Regions from separate parts of the Homo sapiens genome. Here region 1 is linked to region 2. The links are contacts of gene promoters, found by promoter capture Hi-C in blood cells and fetal thymus (Javierre and others, 2016). All regions are on one chromosome and are shown on one strand. Each heading gives the region's core, a stretch centred on a gene start or on the middle of the fragment in contact. The rest is flanking DNA. Distances are from core to core; before and after follow the strand shown. Region 1 holds the start of ECI1 (enoyl-CoA delta isomerase 1). Region 2 overlaps TBC1D24 (TBC1 domain family member 24).

Region 1 (3,572 bases), core at 1,070-3,569, 260 kb before region 2:
CTCAATCTCCTGACCTCGTGATCCGCGCACCCTGGCCTCCCAAAGTGCTGGGATTACAGGTGGGAGCCACCGGGCCCGGACTCAAAAACATGTTATCTTAAGGTATTGGAATGGGTAGTGTGGACTACACATTGTGAATATACTTACGGCCACGGGGTTGTACATTGCAAAATGGCTAGAATGGTAAATGTGAGGCATATTTTAAAGATTTTTATGTACACACACACACACATTACCTCCGGTAAAAAAGGAAAAGTGTTCGTACAATGACAATTTTTTTACTCGAGTGCCTCCCCACTTTACCATATAAAAAGACAACGTAAGCCGGGCGCGGTGGCTCACGCCTGTAATCCCAGCACTTTGGGAGGCCGAGGCGGGTGGATCACGAGGTCAGGAGATCAAGACCATCCTGGCTAACATGGTGAAACCCCGTCTCCACTAAAAATACCAAAAAAAAAAAATTAGCCGGGCGTGGTGGCGGGCGCCTGTAGTCCCAGCTACTTGGGCGGCTGAGGTAGAAGAATGGTGTGAACCCGGGAGGCGGAGCTTGCAGTGAGCGGAGATCGTGCCACTGCACTCCAGCCTGGCGACAGAGCAAGACTCCGTCTCAAAAAAAAAAAAAAAAAAAAAAAAAAAAAGACAAAGTAGAGTTTGGAGTCAGAAAGTCAGGCCTGACTGAGATTGCAGTGAGCCGGAACCGCGCCATTGCACGCCAGCCTGGGTGACAGAGGGAGCCTCTGTCTCAAAAAAAAAAAAATAATAATTTTTTTTTTTGCATTTTGTTGAGATATATTCAAATATGCTACAGAAATGATCCCTTCAGAAACTCAGTTTTTACAAAAATTAGTGGGCATAGTGGTGGGTCCCTGTAATCCCAGCTATTTGGGAGGCTGAGGAGGGAGAATCGCTTGAACCCAGGAGGCACAGGTTGCAGTGATCGGAGATTGCGCCACTGCACTCCAGTCTGGCGACTGGAGAGCAAGACTACATCTCCAAAAAAAAAAAAAAAAAAAAAAAAAGTCAGTTTGAAGTTGGTCTTAGTTTGTCCCTCTCAAGTTTGTAGAGAGAGCCCAGGCAGCTCCCTCAGCCCAGACAGAGAGGACGGAACCAAGTTCAGAGGCACCAGGAGCCTGGAGTCCTGAAGCTGTGCAAAGTTGGGCACAGCCCTGAGTCTGGGGGGTTGGGGAGGGCAGGGGCTGTGACTTACTTGCGGAGGGGGAGGGCCTCCTCTCAGGAGCCACAGCAGGGACTGCTGCACCGGGAGGTCCAGGTCAGCATGTCCTGGAAGCAGAACTGCTGGCGCCTAGGCGTGCCCTCTCGGTGCCCTCAGCTCGGCCTCCTGTCTGGAGGGAGCGCACAGGCTTCTCTTCCAAAAGTACTTTTTCTATCCTTTCCAGTGGGTTTTACCAAGGGTTCTGACGGGCGGGTAGGTACGAGGTTCTGTGCCACATGGGAGTGTTAACAAACGTAATTTTATTCCAAAAGATTCCAATTCTTTTCCACTTCCAATTGAATAACTTAGATAACAGCTCATATCCCCGCCAACTTTATTTTTATTTATTTATTTATTTTGAGACGGAATCTTGCTCTGTGGCCCAAGCTGGAGTGCAGTGGCACAATCTCGGCTCACTGCAGCCTCCACCTCCCAGATTCCAGCGATTCTTCTGCCTCAGCCTCCCAGGCATAGGCACGCACCACCACGCCCAGCTAATTTTTTTCTTTTGTATTTTTCAGTACAGATAGGGTTTCATCATGTTGGCCAGGCTGATCTCGAACTCCTGACCTCAGGTGATCCGCCCGCCTCTGCCTCTTAAAGTGCTAGGATTACAGGCGTGAGCCACCGCGCCCGGCCTCCGCCAACTTTAAAAACAGAAACTTTTATCTCATGACGAACGAACCCAGGTAGAGCGGCAAGGTTCTGTTTCGAAACTTGGGTTCTAAACACAAACCGAGCGTCGACAGACGTGGTTCTCCGACAGCACCCCGCGAGCGCGGACCCCCGCGGGTCCTGACCCCACGCCCGCCCTCCCTCGGCGCCGCCCGCTCACCTGCGCCCGCGTCCGGCTCCACCAGCACCCGCTGGCTCCCGAAGCGCCGCGCGCCGTCTCCGCCGCCGGCCGCCCGCTCCGTCCGCCCGAGGGCCGCGCCCGGGAGCCGGGCCCCTGCGAAGGCAGCGTGGGGGAGCCCGTTAGTTCCCGGTCCTGGCCCCGGCCCCGGCCCGATCCCTGCCCACCCCGGGTTTCGCACCCGCGCGGAGCAGAACGCGCGCCGGGACTCGCACAGAAGCCACCAGCGCCATCTTGACCGCAACGCGCGGGATAAAGGTCGCGGGCTGAGCTCGCCTCCTGGGGAGGGGGCGGAGCCCCCCCAACTAGGTCCCGCCCCGTTCCCAGAGGCTGGTCAACGCCTCCACCTACCGGCCGAAACAGCCGCTCGCCGCCCTCCGGCTTCACCCCGGGCAGCCGCGCGCTTCCGGGGCAGGCACCTGGATCTGGGCCAGGGCTGGCCTACAAGGAGGCGCAGGCCCACTGCTGAAGCAGCCACGACCAGCTCAGCGCCAGGGCAGGCTCTTCTACAGCGCGGGACACTGTAGGCAAGAGGCTGCCGGTGTTCGTGACCGCGAGCTCTCGGCCGGGCCCAGCTACTGCAGTATCGGCGCTGGAAAGGCGATCAAAGCACGGAACCCCTCCCGAGGGGGCCGTCAGGGAGGCCAGGGGCTGCCTGGGGTGAGCCCGGCCTCCTGCCCCTTTGGGAACAGGATCAGAGCTGCAGGTTTAGTCACCGAAATGGGGGTGGGGGCAGCAGAACCCAGCGGTAAGAACAGGCCACCCGCCTTGCTCAGCACAAGGGCAAGTGCACAAAGGCCGGACCGCAGTGGCACCTTTTTATTTGCAGAGAAATGCCGAAAGATAAGAATACAGTCTGTTCCCGCTGGGCCGTAAGCGGCAGCTCGGGAGTGGGCCTTTGTACTGTCTGGTGTGGGGTTTTGGTCAGACCACTGGGAGCACTGGGCAGTAAGGTCCCAGCTGTGTTGGGTGGTCTCAACTTTTGTTCTCATCTTAAGCATTTCCAATTCTTCCTTGTGTCCCAAACCAATTTTTGAGGTGGAAAAATGGCCACTTAACGGAGGAGGAAGCAAGCCTGGCATGGTGACACACACCTGTAACCCCAGTGACTCAGGACCAGCTGGGTAACATAGCAACAACTTGTTGCTACAAAAAATTCTTAAAAATTAGCTCCTGCTGCTGGGCGCGGTGGCTCATGCCTGTAATCCCAGCACTTTGGGGGCCAAGGTGGGCAAATCATGAGGTCAGGAGTTTGAGACCAGCCGGGCCAATATGATGAAACGCCGTCTCTACTAGAAATACAAAAAATTAGCTGGGCATGGTGGCAGGTGCCTGTAATTCCAGCTACTCAGGAGGCTGAGGCAGGAAAATCACTTGAACCCAGGAGGCAGAGGTTGTAGTGAGCCAATATTGCGCCACTGCACTCCAACCCAGGCAACAGAGACTGTCTCAAAAAAAAAATTAAAAAATTAAAAAAAAATTAGCCCCTGCTACTCTGGACACTGA
Region 2 (4,177 bases), core at 1,626-4,125:
CATGAACTGGCAAAAACATTGGCATTTGGTCAAATGCTTATGAGCTAAGGATAGAAGGGAAAAAATAGTTGTGTGAATGATTTTACCTCTTAGTTCTTACGAAGGATGGTTATCGGGCTGGAAAAATGTTTATTGGACTGATGCTTTGGAGCCTCTCAATGAATGTAATAAAAAAAATGTGTAGTGAGCACAAATGTATGGATTTGCAGCACAATCCAACTTTGAAAATGTGAAAATAAGTGAGTTAGTGATATGTTTGGTTGGTGTTAATTTGAGTCCTAAATAAAATCGAGAACTGGTAAAAGAAGGTCACTGTGAAATAACTTGCTATGAGAAGGCTTAGAGGGATGGGAAGTCCTGGACGCCTCTTCTCCAGGGTGTTGGAGGAGAGAGGGAGGCGCTAGGTTGACAAGACCGCATCTGCGCATTGTGGTCACCAGCGAGTCTCTCCACTGAGGCGACAGGTACATGTCTGTCGCATTTGCAGCCGTGGCCGGTGAGAACGGCAGCATTCCCTGATCCGTCTTGTTTTCTTTTGTTCCTAGTGCCTGCTGTGTGGACAGCTACACTCAGCAAAGTCTTAGGGAGACTTAGAGGAGTCACCATGAAGAATCAGTGTCAGACGTTTCATCAGGAATCCCTGTCAAGGCCGGGTGTGGTGGCTCACACCCGTAATCCCAAGACTTTAGGAGGCTGAGGTGGGTGGATTGTTTGAGGCCAGGAGTTTGAGAGCAGCCTGGGCAGCACAGGGAGACTCCATCTCCACAAAAAAATAGTGAAGAACCCCTGTCGTGTGTAAAACACGAGTATCAAAAAACAAACTCAACCTTTCTCATTCAAAATTTCAAAATGAGTATTTCCTTTGAAAGTTTGCGTCTCTCTCTCTCTCTCTCTCTCTCTCTCTCTCTATATATATATATATATATATATAATTTTTTTTTTTTTGAGATGGACTCTCACTCTGCCACCTAGGCTGGACTGCAGTGGTTCAATCTCGGCTCACTGCAAGCCCCACCTCCTGGGTTCACACCATTCTCCTGCCTCAGCCTCCCGAGTAGCTGGGACTACAGGCACCTGCCACCACGCCCGGCTAATTTTTTTGTATTTTTAGTAGAGACGGGGTTTCACCCTGTTAGCTAGGATGGAATTATCTCCTGACCTCGTGATCCACCCGCCTCGGCCTCGCAAAGTGCTGGGATTACAGGCGTGAGCCACCGCGCCTGGCCACGTCAATATTAATGAATGTCTTTTTTTTTGTTTGAGACGGAGTCTTGCTGTATCGCCCAGCCTGGAATGTGGTGGTGCGATCTTGGCTCACTGCAACTTCCAACTTCCAGGTTTGAGGTATCCTCCTGCCTCAGCCTCCTGAGTAGCTGGGATTACAGGCACCTGCCACCATGTCCGGCTAATTTTTGTATTTTCAGTAGAGACCGGATTTCACCATGTTGGCCGGGCTGGTCCCTAACTCCTGGCCTCAAGTTATCCGCCTGCCTCGGCCTCCCAAAGTGCTGGGATTATAGGGGTGAGCCACCGTGCCCGGCCACGTCTTTTTAGTACCTTGTGTTTAATTGTGGATCGGTATAATACAAAGAAAAATAGAATGCCTTTTTTCTTTTGAGCCCTGCACAGATGCCCCCTCCCTGTCCAGTTCCTCCAGTGAGACCGAGGCTGCTGGGGGCCCTCCCTGCAGCTGCTGTGGAGCCTCTGCCTGCCGTCACGTGAGCTGCCTCTGCCCACTCTATGCTCCTGGGTTCCTCTTCCCCAGACTGGCCACGGGGGTGGCCCCTTCCTGCCAAGCCCTCTTTCTTTGCTCCTCTGAACACCTTCCTTCAGTACCTTCAGGGGACTGTTGGGGCAGCACCTGTCCCGGGTCTGAGAGGCCTCCTGGTCTGCTAGCCTGGCAGGAAGCTTGGCCCCCAACACAGCCACAGGCTCTCTGGCACCAGGTTTCTTTCAGTTCCTCTGAACTGAAAGCCTCTGTTTCCCGGCCTTTGCGCGTGCTATTTGCCACTCCTCATGCCTGGGCCCTAGTGTCCCTCCCAGGATTTCCCTGAGCTCCCCGCTGAGGCCGGGTCCGCGTTCTAGCTTCACAGCACCTGAGACAGGTGTTGGCTGGTCTCCCCACCCCCTGTCCTAAAGACTGTCAGTCTCAAGGGGCAGGAGTGCCTAGCACTGCAGAATGAACTGAAGCCCCTGTGGGTTGGTGTGCGCTGCTGCTGTGCGTCCAGGGTGATCAGAGATTCTCCAGGTGTGCTCCTGGGGCCTGTGGTGGCGGGACACCCCCTTCCCACACCCGCCACGCTCCCTGCAGTAACTCTTGCACTTACTGTAAGTGCTCGGACTGTCTTGTGCTTGACATTAGGACACACACTCAGGCCAGAATTGGGCAAGATTGTCCCTGAGCGGGGCGTGCAGAGCGCTCTGGCCTGGGAGGTGGGGCGCAGGGCTGCTTCCTCCTGCAGGCCAGCTCACTGTGGGGCTGGTGTCTGCCCAGAGCTTGGCCAGGCAGTGCCGCCCCCTCCCTTCCTGCCGCCTCTACCAGCAGCCTTCCCTCAGGCTGCTTTCCGGGCCTAGTCTGTGGCAGGTGTCCAGGGCACAGTCTTCCCTCTAGCCTGCCATGAAACTGTTTCATTTTTCTTTTAAAAAAATTGAAGTGAAATTGACATACTATCCAACCATTTGAACGACCCCAGACAGAGGTGGTGGTTGCATGAATGAGCATGTTGTGGAACCACCACCTCCAGTTCCATGGCATTTCCCCACTCCTAAAGGAAAACCTGGCCCCAGCAAGCAGCTGCTCCCCATGCCTCTCTATCTTATGACTTTGGGTTTCATTTTCATGTTTTTGTTTTTTTGAGATGGAGTCTTGCTCTGTCACCCAGGCTGGAGTGCAGTGGCATGATCTCTGCTCACTGCAACCTCCCCGTCCCGGGTTCAAGCGATTATCCTGCCTCAGCCTCCCTAGTAGCTGGGATTACAGGCACCCGCCACCACACCCGGCTAATTTTTGCATTTTTAGTACAGACGGGATTTCACCATGTCGGCCAGGCTGGTCTCCAACTCCTGACCATAGGTGATCCGCCCACTTTGGCCTCACAAAGTGCTGGGATTACAGGTGTGAGCCATGTGCCCGACCAGTCTGTGACTTACTTAAATACAGACTGGATCATGTTTCTCCCCTGCTCTATGCCCTCTCTTCATCTTTCAAGTCCTAATTCAGAGATCACCTCTTCTGCGACCCACCGAGCTAGTCCCAGCACCTCCTTCCCTTGTCCCCCCTGCTTCTAGGAACCACACTTCTGGTGCGGCATTGGCTGTACCGTTGGGGACGCTACTGCTCCCTGGTAGGCTGCCAGGTCTTGAGGGTAGGGACTCTAACTTGTCTTTGTCTGGCAGGGGCCTCACTCAGCACCTGGCACAATAGTAGGTGCTCAGGGAACTGAATGAATGGATCAGGGTCTGAGGCGGGCAAGGGCTGCGGCGGTGAGCCCTGACCCCCTGGGTGGAGTGTGAGGAGGCCGTGTTGGCCTTCAGGGTGCACCCTGAAACCAGACATGGGGTCCAGGCTGCCTAGGGCTGAGCGTTTATCTGACACCCGTTCTGAAAAACCTGGTCGTGGTGCAGGTGCAGCCCCCGGCCCTGGTCATTTGGAAGTTTGTGTCCAAAAAAACCCAATGGCTACTATAGCACCTGTGAGCCAATGGGGTCCTCCACCTGCCCACCTGCCTGCAGAAGAAACGCCGAACACTGCTGCCTAGTGGTCAGGGCCGGCTGGACTCCCTGCCCACCCCACTGGGTCCTCAAAGAGGAGGGCCCACTCAGGCCCTTTTCCATCAACCCTGAAAGCTTGGGGTGAGCGAGAAGGGGGAGCTGCCCTGTCCTTGGGGTCATTGCAGTCGTCTGCCTCCAACCTCTTGCCCCCTCAGTGCCTGCTGTCCAGCGGGAGCAGCTCAGGGCTCCACCTCCCCTGCCGCCCTCGACTTTGGGGAGCCTCCTTGCACCAAGCAGCTTGTACGGTGCCGAGTCCTACTTGCACCACGTTGTCTTTACCTCTGGCATTTTATTTTATTTAAACATGGGAGGCAGAGCTTGCGGTGAGCTGAGATTGCGCCACTGCAATCCAGCCTGGGTGACAGAGTGAGACTCCATCTCAAAAACAAAAAACAAAAAACAAAAA

Evidence for each region. The method cuts DNA at HindIII sites, captures the fragments that hold promoters and counts their contacts. A CHiCAGO score of 5 or more calls a contact.
Region 1: a contact is called between the fragment with the promoter of ECI1 here and a fragment that was not itself captured in region 2, in 2 of 17 cell types (endothelial precursors and erythroblasts). The highest score is 7.9, in endothelial precursors.

The regions. Positions count from the first base shown.
Region 1 is chr16:2,249,268-2,252,839 of GRCh38, forward strand. ECI1 (enoyl-CoA delta isomerase 1) reads right to left here and starts at 2,320. Exons shown (of 7, transcript NM_001919.4): 1 at 2,248-2,320; 2 at 2,049-2,162. The coding sequence starts at 2,299. It overlaps LOC107984839 (a long non-coding RNA gene), which reads left to right and starts at 2,403. Exons shown (of 2, transcript XR_001752052.2): 1 at 2,403-2,726. RefSeq lists enhancers at 1,652-1,781, 2,712-2,771 and a silencer at 1,992-2,461. The HindIII fragment of the contact is 15,979 bases long and covers 1-3,572 here.
Region 2 is chr16:2,505,427-2,509,603 of GRCh38, forward strand. It overlaps TBC1D24 (TBC1 domain family member 24), which reads left to right. Exons shown (of 8, transcript NM_001199107.2): 8 at 1-304. Among named protein-coding and RNA genes, the nearest start is that of ATP6V0C, 6.4 kb to the right of the region's middle. RefSeq lists enhancers at 1,763-2,263, 2,264-2,764. The HindIII fragment of the contact is 1,938 bases long and covers 1,907-3,844 here.